Linked DNA regions of Homo sapiens: region 1 is linked to region 2. Evidence: promoter capture Hi-C in 16 types of primary human blood cells and fetal thymus (Javierre and others, 2016). All regions are on one chromosome and are shown on one strand. The core of a region is centred on a gene start or on the middle of the fragment in contact, and the rest is flanking DNA. Distances in the headings are between cores, read along the strand shown. Region 1 holds the start of IPO11 (importin 11). Region 2 holds the start of ARRDC3 (arrestin domain containing 3).

The links. Contacts are between HindIII fragments. The CHiCAGO score rates a contact against its expected background, and 5 or more counts as called.
Region 1: a fragment that was not itself captured here is called in contact with the fragment with the promoter of ARRDC3 in region 2 in 1 of 17 cell types (fetal thymus); the score reaches 10.7 in fetal thymus.

What each region holds. Positions count from the first base shown.
Region 1 is chr5:62,411,124-62,418,639 of GRCh38, forward strand. It overlaps IPO11 (importin 11), which reads left to right and starts at 1,640. Exons shown (of 30, transcript NM_016338.5): 1 at 1,640-1,806. RefSeq lists an enhancer at 1,561-1,750 and a silencer at 2,081-2,130. The HindIII fragment of the contact is 2,111 bases long and covers 1,366-3,476 here.
Region 2 is chr5:91,381,548-91,388,845 of GRCh38, forward strand. It overlaps ARRDC3 (arrestin domain containing 3), which reads right to left and starts at 1,770. Exons shown (of 8, transcript NM_020801.4): 1 at 1,266-1,770. The coding sequence starts at 1,545. All of the region lies in intron 1 of ARRDC3-AS1 (ARRDC3 antisense RNA 1), which reads left to right. RefSeq lists a silencer at 1,677-1,986 and enhancers at 1,840-2,357, 2,237-2,536. The HindIII fragment of the contact is 1,076 bases long and covers 1,509-2,584 here.

The DNA of each region.
Region 1 (7,516 bases), core at 1,171-3,670, about 29 Mb before region 2:
ATCCTAACATGGCCTTTTACTAGCTGTTTGACGTTAGGTGGGCTACTTGACTTCTCTGTGCTTCAGTTTCTTCATCTGTGAAGTGGACATAAAGAAAATACCTACCTCATAAGGGTTGTTCTGAGGATTAAAATAGATAATTCCCATAAAGATCTTAAAACTGTACCTGGAATATTCTAAATTAGCAATAAAGGTTTTCTATTATTAATATTTTTGAACACTCTATTTCCTTACAACTTCTTTTACTATTATTATTATTATTTTGAGACGGAGTTTTGCTCTTATTGCCCAGGCTGGAGTGCAATGGCGCGATCTCGCCTCACTGCAACCTTTGCCCCCAGGGTTCAAGCGATTCTCCTACCTCAGCCTCCCGAGTAGCTGGGATTACAGGGGTGCACCATCATGCCCAGCTAATTTTTTATATTTTTAGTAGAGATGGGGTTTCTCCTTGTTGGTCAAGCTGGTCTCGAACTCCTGACCTAAGGTGATCTGCCCGCCTCGGCCTCCCAAAGTGCTGGGATTACAGGCGTGAGCCACTGTGCCTGGCCTTACTATTATTATTTTTAAGAAATATATAGTTGGTGTGTATTTTTAATTAATTTATTTATTTTGAGACGGAGTCTATTTATTTATTTATTTATTTATTTGTTTATTTATTTTGAGACGGAGTCTCGCTCTGTTGCCCAGGCTGGAGTGCAGTGGAGCAATCTTGGCTCACTGCAACCTCTGCCTCCAGGGTTCAAGCGATTCCCCTGCCTCAGCCTCCTGAGTAGCTGGGATTACAGGCGCCCGCCACCGCGCCAGGCTAATTACTGTATTTTTAGTAGAGACAGGGTTTCATCATGTTGGCCAGGCTGGTCTCGAACTTCGGACTTCGTGGTCCGGCCGCCTCAGCCTCCCAAAGTGCCGGGATTACAGGTGTGAGCTACTGTGCCCACCCCTTATTATTTTTGAAATGGGTGTGTGTGTGTGTGTGTGTGTGTGTGTGTGAACTCTCTATATGTCCCAGGTTGGCTTCGAATTCCTGGGCTCAAGTGATCCTCCTGCCTCCATATCTGGAGTAGCTGGGACTACAGGCGCGCGCCACTGCGCCTGAGTAAGTTCTCTTTTTAAGGATAAGAAAATTTAGGTGACTATGCTAGCTTTTAGCAGAGGCAAGCAGAACTGGATTTATGTCCTTTTACATTTTTCCACTCTTGCTATTACTCAGGAGTAAGCGCCAAGCAATTTGGGTAACTTAAAAAATAAATATTTGCGGGAGGGAGGGTGGACTGATGGGAGTAAGATTCTTTAAATAACTCTTCTCTGCTGTGACGGATCCGCTATTGATATCTAGAATATAAAGCGTGAAATGGTTCTGATTGAAGCTTCAATCAACGCAGGAAACAATTGAGCTCCCTGGGAGTCGGAGAAACCAGACCTATGGTTTCCATGGTGACAGATCCGGCTAGTCCGGACTCCTGGCTCTTTATACTGCGCAAGCGCACTGCGCAAGCGCACACAACTGATTTGGATACCCCGCGCCTTTTGGTTCAAAGACAAAGCCCCTCCTTCCCCTTCCCGCCGTTCGCCTATCGCCTTCTCTCTCTGCCGGTCGCATGCGCGCTGGTCTCCTGTGACGTAGTTTTCGCGCGTCCGCGTCGTTTGGAGCTGCGACGCCAAACATGGCGTGTTCCTAGAAGCCGCTTTCGGCATCAGTAGGCGGCGGCGTGGGGTCTGGCAGCGTGGGGAGAGGGACCAACCGACGCCACTTCGTGTTGGGAAGTGGGAGCGGGAGGGCCGGGCAATTCCCGACCGAACCAAACGGTGAGGCCCCGGCCCGAGAGCCACCGAGCGCGCGGGAGTGGAAGGGAGTGGGTTGGGCACCCGAGTCCCGAGAGGCGGGAGGAAAGTGGGGCTACCAGGAGATGAGGGATAACGGTAGCGAGGCAAGGGCGGCCTGCAGACTTGGCTGTTTGCGCAACCTTAGGAACCCGGGGAACTGGGGGCTGGCCGAGGCAGCCCGGGAGTGGGCAGCATGGTAGTGGAGCAATCAGGGTGCGGGGTGGGAGGGACCGTATGCTAGGCTGAGCAGAGGCGAGTGTACCCATCGTGACCGCGGTTGCGGACCTGGGTGATGCATTTGCCCTTGGGGGATAGGTGGTGCAAATTTTGAGATAAAGTGGTTATCTCGAGTATAAGACCGTTGTGCATTGTTACTGCGCACGCGACCTTGTTGCTAATAGCAATAGTGTGATAGCTTTAAACATTAGACCCTTACATGCTTTTAATGAAAAAGTGAAGGTAGTTGTCCGTTTATAGAGAGGAGCTTCATGGAGAGGTATGGCCGCCAATTCTCAAGCTCAGCGACTCCTGTAGATTTATATTTGGGGGTATTTGTGATTCAGCAAAACTACTTTTGCTTATTACGTGTGTCATTTTTTCTTTATTATTTTGTGACATGTTGGTGAATGAGAGAAGTACTATCTGAAAGTGATTTGACTAAATAGCAAGGACTGGTAAATTACCTACTAGTGCCAAGGTTGCAGTTGACATACCTCCTCCCCTCCATAATTTAAACGAGCTCAGTTGTAGCGCGGTAGTGCCCTTCAGATTTCGGTTATTCTTCAGAAGGAAGAATAGTTTGTAGCCATAATGCTTTTCCCCCTCCTGGGATAGGAATTTTCTTCCTCCATTTTCATGTTATTTCAAACTTCTCTGTTCAGTAGAGGAGCTTCAGATTAAGGGCAGGGTGACTCTTCTATAGGAGACATCCATTGCATGACACATATTACATCTTTCATCACTGAGGAAAATTTCGGTGAAAGTAGAAACATTTTCCCTTTTGGTTATGATGGGACTGGTATTTTCTCTGTTTCTGCAGTAACCTAGCACAGGGTATAGTAGAAACAATTAATTATAGTAGTGGCTTGTGGCCATATATTATAGTCTCAGGGTAGGAGGGTGGTCTCCGCCCTAGTTGAACTTCTAAGGCCAAAGAGAATTTTCACCACAAACACATTTGGCTGTGGTAATGTTAGAGGTTTTAAACAAATATGTAAAGATTATCTGATCATTAATAGAACAATTTTTAGATTTTGTGATGTTTGAATATATTTGCATTTGGAATCAAACCAGAATGCAGCATGATCCTTGTAGGCATGTGGCTATTAAAATACACTGAAGATTTTTCCAGAAACAAAATTTTTTTTTCTCAGCAATAAAAATATTCAAATTTTGGGTAAGGTAATGTTTGATTATTTGGATTTTGACCTTTGTGTTATATATTTGTACCTGTGTGTGTGTATGTATGTAACCTCACTTCTAATTTAGTGTTATTGATGGTAATATTTTTTCCTTTCTTTATCAGCTTCAAATAGGGACTGTTAATTTCAGAGCGTTTAAGGAATGGCAAAACACATTTAGTGCTGGTGTGAGTCTGTAGTGTGTTTGGTTTGCTGACTATCAGACTTATTACAGATAAGTCCACAGTTATAAGCTTTGTAGAGCTTAAGTTGCATCAGTGTTCTTTACCCTTGCTACTCAAATTGTGGTATATAGCATCACCTGGGAGTTTATTAGAAATGCATGATCTCAGGCTCAATCCAGAGCTGCTGAATCAAAATCTGCAATTTTAACAAGTTATCTAGATGAAAGGAATGTTCAATAAATCTTGAGATGCACTACTTTGGTTGGTAACAGTTGAAGAACACTGAGGTAATGCACAAACCGGTATAAAAATTTATAGCATCATTTATTTTAATCTGAGGTGATCTTATGCTGATTATCCAGTCTGATGAAACTGAGGCCCAGAAAGGTAAGTGCCTTGCATAAGGTCACACATACCTAGATTTATAACCCAGATTCCAACTCATTCCAGTGCTTTTCTTTTGCTGGTTACTGTCAGAGCTTGTTATATTAAAAACGGACTAAAATTCATGAATGACAATTAGGTGTTCATTCAATAACAAACGTCTATTGGGTACTGTACAGGCAGCCTAACAATCCTGTGTGTCCCTGCTAACTGCTCCTGTTTATCATGGTGGCTATTAACCCACCACCTTTCCTCTTTATTTTTTTTGAGGCGGGGTCTCACTGTCACCTAGGCTGGAGTGCAGTGGCGTGATCTCTGCTCACTGCATCTTCCGCCTCCCGGGTTCAAGCGGTTCTCCTGCCTCAGCCTCCAGAGTAGCTAGGATTACAGGTGCCTGCCACCAAGCCTGGCTAATTTTTGTATTTTTAGTAGACAGGGTTTCACCATTTTGGCCAGACTGGTCTTGAACTCCTGACCTCCCTGAACTCCACCCACCTTGGCCTCCCAAAGTGCTGGGATTACAGGAGTGAGCCCGGCCCCGTCTTTACTTTTTTTTTTTTTTTTTTTTTGAGATGGAGTTCTGCTCTTTTTGCCCAGGCTGGAGTGCAGTGGCGCGATCTCAATTCACTGCAACCTCCGCCTCCTGGGTTCAAGTGATTCTCCTGCCTCAGCCTCCTGAGTAGCTGGGATTACCGGCATGCACCGCCATGCCCAGCTAATTTTGTATTTTTAGTAGAGACGGGGTTTCTCCATGTTTGTCAGGCTGGTCTCGAACTCTCGACCTCAGGTGATCCCCCTGCCTCAGCCTCCCAAAGTGCTGGGATTACAGGCTTGAGCCACCACGCCCGGCCCCCTCTTTACTCTTTACTGGATAAAGTTCCCTTCTGCTTCATAGAGGAAATGAAATACATTGAGTGGGAACTTCATTGCTTTCTGTTCTGTTTCACCTGCAAACATGAAGACCTCTATCTGTCCATCTCTAATGATATTCTGAGTTTTTTCTCCTTACGGGCAATATTTCCTTCATGTGTTTGCTAGGGCCGCCACAACAAAATACCTTATATTGGGTAGCTTAAACAAGAGAATTTTTTTTCTCACAGTTCTGGAGAGTGGAAGTCTAAGATCAAGGTGCAGATAAGATTGGTTTCCTGTAAGACCTCCATCCTTGGCTTGCAGATGGCCACCTTCTTGCTGCCTTTTCTCGTGGTCATCCTGTGTGTACATGCACCTCTGCTGTATCTTTCTGTTTTCTTTTTTTTTCTTTTCTTTTTTTTTTTTTTTTTGAGACGGAGCCTCGCTCTTGTCTCCCAGGCTGGAGTGCAGTGGCCCGCTCTCAGGTCACTGCAACCTCCGCCTTCCCGGTTCAAGCGATTCTCCTGCCTCAGCCTCCTGAGTAGTTGGGATTACAGGCGCTCACCACCACGCCCGGCTAATTTTTATATTTTTAGTAGAGACGGGTTTCACCATGTTGTCCAGGCTGGTCTCAAACTCCTGACCTCAGGTGATCTGCCCGCCTCAGCCTCCCAAAGTGCTGGGATTACAGGCGTGAGCCACTGCACTGGCCTGCTGTTTCTTTTTCTTATAATGGCATCAGTTATATTGGTTTAGGGCCTTACCCTAACAACCTCATCTTATCTTAATCACCTTAAAAACTTTATCTCCAAATACTGAGGGTTCGGGGGTTAGGGCTTCAACATGAATTTTTAAGGAACACAGTTCAATCCATAACATTCAGTTACTCCTTTTTCAACTAGTACTAACTTAACAAGGATTTAAGCATACCCAAGTCTCTTATTATCTTTTTTTTTTTTTATTTTTTTTTTTTGAGACAGAGTACTCACTCTGTTTCTCAGGCTTGAGTGCAGTGGTGCTATCTTGGCTCACTGCAACTTCTGCCTCCCAGGCTCAAGCGATCCCTCCACCTCAGCCTCTCTGGTGGCTGGGACCACAGGTGAGGCGCAGGCCACCATGCTTGGCTAATTTTTGAATTTTTTTTTGTAGAGATGGGGTTTTGCCACATTGCCCAGGCTTGTCTCAAACTCCTGGGTTCAAGCGATCCACTGGCCTTGGCCTCCTGAAGTGTATTGGAATTATATGGGTGAGCCACCGTGCCTGGCCTCAAATCAAGTCTTATCTGAAATATACGCTCCTTACCTTAGATTCTTAGATTCCTCTTCAGCTTTATCTATAATTATTTTTCTTAGTTTTTTTTTTTCTCCTTTTTTTAAGAGACAAGGTCTCTTGTTACCTAGGCTGGCCTCAAACTTCAGGGCTCAAGTGATCCTGCCACTTCAATCTCATGAGTAGCTGGTACTACTTGTGTGTGCCACCATGCCCAGCTTATTTCCTTTAAGTTTCTTGAAAGAATTCTCTATATTCATTTTCTTCACCTCCTTATTGGTTAATTTTTTTTTTTTTTTTTTTTTTTTTTGGTATTTTGAAGGCTGACAGTCCATAGCAGTCACTGAATTTGATGTAGTGGTGATCACCATTGATATCTTTGTTGCTAAATCTAATGGAATCTGTTTAATCATTTGCCATTTTAACTACTTGTTCGTTCTTGAAATTTTCTTCTTATACTTCTGGGACACCATATTTTCCTTATTTCCTTCTTAGGTTTTAGCCAGTCTTTTGTTGGTTATTTTTCTCTTTTCTCTGACCACTTTAGATGTTTGACTCTGAGGCACTACCCTGCTCTCTTCTGAAAACCTTCAGATAAAAATCCAAACTACGTAGTTTAGGAAATAAGGACTTCAATGCACACTCTTCATGAATGGTCTCATTTGTGACTTCAACTATTGCCTCTATTTTGATGACTCCCAAATCTGGCTTTTTAGCACAGGTCTCTCTTCAACGCTGACATATGTAGTTGTCTTAAAATACTTGACATTCATGTCAAAAACGTTGTGTATTTCAACCTTCCTGACATTGTTTTCCTCCTATGAGCCATGCAGGCACCAATCAGTTGGAAAAGCCCAAAATCTTAATTCTTTCCCCTTATTAACTTATGTGTAACCCCTCCTCCAACTCTCCAACTATCTAATTATTTTATTTCCAACTCTCCAACTAGCCATTATTTATTTATTTATTTCTGAGACAGAATTTCACTCGTAGCCCAGGCTAAAGTGCAATGGTGCAATCTCGTCTCACCGCAACCTCTGCCTCCCAAGTTCGAGTGATTCTCCTGCTGCAGCTTTCCGAGTAGCTGGGATTACAGGCATGCACTACCATGCCCACGCCTGCCTAGTTTTTTTTTTTTTTTCTTTGAGAGAGAGTTTCACTCTTATTGACCAAGCTGGAGTGCAGTGGCACCATCTCGGCTCACTGCGACCTCCGCCTTCTGGGTTCAAGTGATTCTTCTGCCTCAGCCTCCTGAGTAGCTGGGATTACAGACGTGCGCCACCATGCCTGGCTAATTTTGTATTTTTAGTAGAGTATGTTGGTCAGGCTGATCTCAAACTCCTGACCTCAGGTGATCCACCTGCCTCGGCCTTCTAAAGTATTGGGATTACAGGCATGAGCCACTGCACCCAGCCAACACATATCATATAGTTTAAAATGTAAGTGTTTCCAGTACAGTAAGCTATTAACAGTATAGTGCTATGAACAGCATTCATATAGTTAATAGCATTATGCAGAAAAATTAAGGATATCGGGAACATAGAGATTCTTGGTTGAGGAGTGAGCCCTTTTAGATTGGCAGTTAGTGGAGACCTCTTTAAA
Region 2 (7,298 bases), core at 520-3,019:
GTTCACCTTAATAGTTTCAAAAATAATGCATTAATACTGTCCCTCAAAGCATCCTTCATTTCTCACTTGCCTTAGTCATCAGCACTTCTCCAGGATGTACGTTTTTAATATAAAAAATAAGGTAAAATATGTCTCTAATTTTTTTTCTGAAAAATCGCCAACATCTGAACTAAATACTGCATTAAAAAGGAGAGGCACAAAAATTACATAACCAGTTTTAACATTATATTCTTCTTGGGCTAGGAATTAAGTCATCGCCACCACCTGACGCGTGTAACCAATCTGCTGAGAGCAGAACAAGCGCCCCTCCTCACCACCCCCCAGAACTGGTCCGAAACAGGATTGAACCGCTTCTAACAAAGGGTGGAAACTTAGAAAAACAAGCCTAGAGTCTCCTATATTTCCACAATGTAACCATTTAAACAATAGATTGGAAATCTCAGGACTCCTTCTCCTTTTGACAACCCTTTATCTCTCTCTTCTAACCAAAAATCAAATCCAGTGTGCCCTATACTTTTCAATTCCATTTGACTGGCATGGGTTTCATTGAATGCACGTTCCAAAGTTAGACATGATGCTCGGAAAAGAAAATTACTGATCCTAAATGGCTTCTAAACCTGACTCGATACCTATCATAATGACAGATAGTCATTCCTTTAAAATAAGGAATGCTGGGTGTAAATTTTTAAAGGAATGGTAAAGAATAGAGAAAAAACACGTGGGGTGTTGATACCATATGTCAAAATAAGCCACAGAAATCTTTTATGAAAGAACAGTCATCAATTATTTAAAGTCTTTTGCATTCCAATATTAAAAATGAAACACACCCATTAAGTCTCTTAAAAATGTTATTACATTTCTTGATCGAAGTTCAGTTTTTACATCTTAGGTTGCAAGTAAAAGGGCAAAAATCTAAGACTGCAGCTTTTACCAATTCATTTGAAAATATATTAGTAAAACGACTGAATTGGATTCAAACAGAATTTATAAGTAAGGTGCAAATGGACTACAAGTGCGTGTGGCACAGACCGAGCCGGGTACAGAGGTAGCTGAATAAGTGTAGTTTGCAGTCACTTTGCAGATGCCTGCATGCATTACGGCTTAACACACGATGAACGTCAAGGAGAATCCAAACCTTCCAACTTTGCTAACCTTTCTCAAACTGCTTAGTTATGCTAGGAGTAGAATCACGTTAATTCAGAAAACTGAAAAGGTACGTTTCCAAAGAAAATGAGTCCAATGACTTATGAATAACAAAAACTTACCTCTTTCGTGCCCAATTAAGATGTCTTTATGGTTGAAATACTCTACTTCTTCAGTGTAATTCTGTGTATAGGCAGTATTGGAGCCGGCGTTTCTAGATTCAGTCCAGCGTACTTTCGCATGTCCTCTTGCATGAATTTTAAGAGATTTTACTCTGATTTCCCCAGTAACTTCTAAATTTACCCTTCCTGAGACGGTATCCCCACTAGAATACACAGGGACATTGCTGTCATTAAGACAGTCAAAGCTTATTGTCAAACTCTTCACCTTTCCCAGCACCATGTTTATAACAAAATCTATAAAAATATAATGTAAGACAAAAAAGTCAAGATCGCATATAAAATGTGATCTTCACTTAACACTGATCGATATTTTTGCCGTGCAAAATGCTTGCAGGCCGGATCAGTGATTCTCTACAAATAGTTCATTGAGATTTCTTAAAAAGTCAGGGCAGCAGAGGCTGCTGCTCCGCGCTCCCGCTCGTCTCAGTGGTCTCCTTACAAAGACGGGCGGCTAAAAGCTGCCAGCTCACTTTAAGAGCAGCTTTGTGAAAAACAACCCCAGTGCGCAGGCGCAGGCCGCGGCTGCTGTCCGCCCTCCCTGCGCGCCCCCTCCCGCGCCGCGCCGCGCCGCGCTCGCTCCCTTGCCCGCTCGCTCCCGGGTACAGTAGGTGTAGAGCTAGGGGAAGGAGATACTGGAGCTGCTGGCCGGCTGAACCTGACTTCTCTTCATTGTGGGCTCCTATTGGTAGGCAGGCTACCGTATACCCTCGACGTGCTATCTGGAGCCCGTTACCGAGCGCACTCTACTAGAAAGATAATGGCAGAGTGGGGTGCGAGGGTACAAGGGCTGGGTGGGGAGTTTGCAAAGCCAAGTTAGGATAAACTGCAGCGACCAGCCCGAAGCGTGCGTTACCGGCACTGCAGCGTTTTACCAACTGCCTGGATGGGAGGAGGAAAAAGTGATGTGTGAAGAGAGATGGGGGAAGGGAGAAACCGGTTGGGCAAGCGGCCGATTGTTGAGCATAATCTAACGAATTTCCAAAGAAAACGTAATAAAACCGGACAAGAAATATTGTTCATAGACAAGAGCATACTTTGCTTGGATTTTTTTTTTTTAAACCAGTACTTTGTAGGCAGGTTGGAAATGAACTCAGTCGAGGTCAAAGGAACCTTAATCCTTTGAAGAGCGAGGTAGAGAAGCAAGTACAATGTAATCAATAGGCTTTGCTGTCTCCTCAACTTCTTTCTCCTACATTGCTTAATTAGCACCGAAAAACAACCAAGTTGTTTCCAGGATGACACGGGTGGGGGCTGGGGGAAGCTTGATCACTTCCTCGAAGGAAGAAAAAGTCCTTTTAAGACACCACCTACGGCTAGATTTGCAGAGTAAGACATGATTACAACTCCTGTGTCCAGAGGAATAAGAATAGAGTTCGGCCTAAAAAAGTACTACCTTATAAAAGGCATATGACATAGTGGTTTAGCTGACATATTGTTTGCAACAGAATCGGAAAATCTTTGTTAGAAATTAGTGAAGCGCATAAAATTGTTTTTAAAAAGCATGATTTGGTATATAAATAGGGATTTAACTGTGTGAAGCTTTAATTTTCGGCCGAGAGCCTTGGACCATTTAACGTAGTAATTCTCATGATACATCTTAAATATAGGTACATTTCTCTTTTTATTGTGAATGTTTGGTAAAAAATAGCAGTGCTTTCGTCACATCACACTGGGATTCAGAGCATAACAGCATAAACTCATCTAGATTACTGGCAATCAACAGAACTGCCTTACAAGAGAAATGTAGAAAGAAAAAATATGAATCTGGTGCTCTCTCTATATATATATGTATGACCAAAAATACCTTGGAAGATTTTTGGCTGTCCGTGTCTAAACGTTTTAGATTCTTTTGCGTAGTGTATATGGATAGGTTGAGCCTATGAGTCACAATAAACTAAACTTATTGGTCTTGCTGTTTTATTTCAAAAGAAACTAAGCTTTTGGGGGTTGGATTTTAGTTGACAAGGCAATATCTTGGACTCAACAGCAATATATAAAGAGTATAAATATGCAAACTAGACAATTAATGAGCAGGCCATTTATTTCAGAGTTTAGATCGCTATGCATAAAATTATAAATTTGCATATTTAAGTGGGAAAAACAGTCTTATCTTTTCCCTACCTCTTGGTTGACACCTGGTGGAAATTCTAGGTAAAGTACCTGGGGCCTTGTACTAGCTTTGATTACAGATACTACTTGTGTTTTTTCTCCACCTAGTGGTAGAAGTGGTGAATTTCCTAGAATGACAGCTTTTCCTCAGCATAAGGTCAATGATATTTAATAAGCATTCGAAAACCACTGAGCAAGGAATGGATTTAAAAGTGTAGTCCATAATGAATACATAAATTCATTGCACATTTGTGTCTACATTTATGTTAAAAATTATTAAGGGTTAGTGAACAGCTGAATTCGGATTTTTTTAGTAAAATTTATTTAATTAGAATATAACTCATTTCAGAAAAAATAAGAATTAGCTATATAAATACACCAGAATTGCATTTAATAAAAAAGAAGTCTAAGAAATTTATTTGTAGTTTGGAAAATTGTTTTAAAATATTAAATGTTTCATTCCTGTCACTGTGTAGTACATTATTCTTTGTGTTTGAAGCTTTCAGGATCTTTTGAATAGTTGTCTTTATTATTTATTTTGCTATTTTTAAAATTTTCTTTTTACTGTGTCTTCTTAAATACTTAGGTAACTGGCAAATTTCCAAGAAATTCTTACCAGCTGCCATTTTCATTATATTTTTATTTTTTGAGATGGAGTCTCACTCTGTTGCCCAGGCTGGAGTGCAGTGGCACAATCTAGGCTCTCTGCGGCCTCTGCCTCCCGGGTTCAGGCGATTCTCCTGCCTTAGCCTCCGGAGCAGCTGGGATTACAGGCACGCACCACCACCTCTGGCTACTTTTTGTATTTTTAGTAGAGACAGGGTTTCACCATGTTGGCCAGGCTGGTCTTGAACTCCTAGCCTCAAGAGATCCACCCGCCTTGGCCTCCCAAAGTGCTGGGACTATAGACATGAGCCGCTTGCGCCTGGTCTCGCTTTATCTTTTCAATTCTTAAAAACAAAAACAAAAACAAAAACGCTTGGACCAAATTTTGAATGTTTTCTCTTGTCGCTTTCATAACTTCCCCCTTTCAGATTTTTTGTCTAAATAGCTACTCCTTAGACAGCTTGAAATGCTGTACTGTAGACATTATCTTGGGCTTCTCAGCTTGCTTCACTGGGCCATTATTGTATTTTGTATTATATTTAAACTATTCGTCTTTACCATCAAGGCTCTTTCCTACTTCTCCCCAGCCTACGTCTCATATGCCATCTCCTCCTACTCATCTGCTAACTCTCTATAATCCTGTCAAGTACATCTTCTGTCCCCTTTGTTAGCTTGTCTCACTGTTGCCAGTATGCAGTTACATGTGCTTTTGGTGCCCAGAATAACATCCCACTACTATGTTATCTCCTTTGCTTTTTTCTAATCCCTCCACTAGATGCAGTTGGCACTACTGAGTAAAATTCCAACTAGACTGAATAACTAGCTTCCCTTCCCCTTTCATTGCTTCTTCAGAGCTTAAGTAGGAATCTCTTTTTATATTAGCTTTTGAGTCAAATGGCTCTTTCACCTTAATATATTAAAGTTTGAACTCAATCTCAAGAACTCTATCAAAGACTGATAAATGATCATTGCTGTCAAGTTGTATGATATTGAGGAGATATGTTAAGATTACTGCCAAGTTTGGAGTTTTTTGCATATTATATCAACATGCTCAATATTTTTATTTTTAAAAAAAAAGGAAGCCATCTCAACTGGAAGTTTTGGTGTTTGGTTGAAAAAAAAAAAAACCTACCAGTAGTCAGAATCTGTTTCATAAAGAAAAATATGAAATCTATGCTTAATCTATTTTAACTAGCAGCTGATAGGCTCGAGTGCTATGGGACTAAGGGGGATTTTTTTCCTTTGGTCTTAATTCTGTATTTCAAGATTTTGTAACTCTGACTTAACTCTTTAATATCGTCACAGTGCAGCAAATTTGGCATGCAGACTGGACAGAAGACTTGCTGTATTATTAGCAAAATGAGTAGTATTTGTTTTTTAGCTTTGAGAGCTATTACAAACATAACGCATATTATGTTTGTTATGTTCTTCATACTTAATAGACTTTTAAATATGTTATGGATTTTGTGATGAAACTCACTATCAAATTTGGATTCTGATATCCTTCATTAATAAATAGTATAATTTGTGTTATGTGAACACCATTTAATCTGTTATATTTTATTTCTTGATTAAAAGAAAATCACCCATAATTCTACTGTCCGTCCATTCAGAGACACCACTGTTAACATTTTGGTGTATTTCCATCCAGATGTACAACTAAAGAAGAGCATTGCCAGTGAAGCTATGGCAGTGCATATTATCATGTAGAAGATGAGTTGGTAAAGTTTATTCATCTAAGCTCAAATGGCATCTGGTCTACAGAAAGAATTAGGAATGCTAAATTTCTTTTCTGAACTACTTTATAAATTTTGACTTTTGACTATGCACAACTTTATATAATGAGGGTAAAATTTTATTTGCTGTAATAAAATATTTTCTGGCTGAGTGTGGTAGCTCATGCCTGTAATCCCAGAACTTGAGAGGCTAAGGTGGGAGGATTGCTTGAGTCCAGTGGTTTGAGACCAGTCTGGGCAACATAGCAAGACCCTGTCTCTACAAAAAATACAAAAATTAGCCAGGTGTGGTGGCATGTGCCTCTAGTCCCAGCTATTCAGGAAGCTGAGGTAGAAGGATCACTTGAGCCTGGAAGGTTGAGTCTGCAGTTAGCTGAGCTCGTGCCATTGCACTCCAGTCTAGGTGACAGAGTGCGACCCTGTCTCAAAAAAATTTTTTTTAAATTTTTTTTCAAACATTTGATTATTTTATTTTGAGACAGCTCTGTTGCGCAGCTGGAGTGCAGTGGCGCAATCTCAGCTCACTGCAACCTCTGCCTCCTGGATTCAAGCCGGGATTACAGGCCGTCATCACCATACTCTGCTGATTTTTGTATTTTTAGTAGAGGCAGGGTTTCACCACGTTGGCCAGGCTGGTCTTGAACTCCTGGCCTCAAGTGATCTGCCTGCCTTGGCCTCAAAAGATGCTGGGATTACAGGTGTGGGCCACCGTTCCTGGCCAACATTTTGATAATTTTATATAGGATATGTAGCTTATATAGCATAGCATATCTACTTTGAAATATTTTACTCTCCCAGGGATGAAAGGGCTGAAGAGGCCCATTAAAGTCATTAAGTCAACTCCCTGCCTTTAAGCAACCTGAGAACCCATTCTATTTTTGTTTTTATTTTCTTATTTATTTAAATTTTAACTTTCATTTTAGATTCAGAGGTACATGTGCAGGATTGTTACATGTGTATACTGCGTGATGCCGTGGTTTGGGGTATGATTGATCTCATAACCTGGGTAGTGAGCACAATACCCAATGGGTAGTTTTTCAACCCTTCCTACTCCTGCTCCAGTAGTCCCTAGTGTCTGTTGTTCCTATGTTTATGTCCATATGTATCTGGTGTTTAGCTCCCACTTGTAAGTGAGAATATGCAGTATTTGGCTTTATGTTTCTGTGTTAATACACTTAAGATAATGGATTCCAGCTGCACCCATGTTGCCGCAGAGGACATGATTTCCTTCTTTTTTATGGCTGCATAGTATTCCGTGGTATATATGTACCACATTTTCTTTATCCAGTCCACCATTGGTGGGCATCTAGGTTGATTCCGTATCTTTGCTATTGTGAGTACTGCTGTAAGGAATATACAAGTGCATGGGTCTTTCAGTAAAACAATTTCTTTTCCTTTGGGTATGTACCCAGTAATGGGATTGCCAGGTCGAATCGTAGTTCAATTTTTAGTTAATTGAGAAATCTCCAAACTGCTTTCCACAGTGGCCGAACTAATTTACATTCCTACCAACAGTATATAA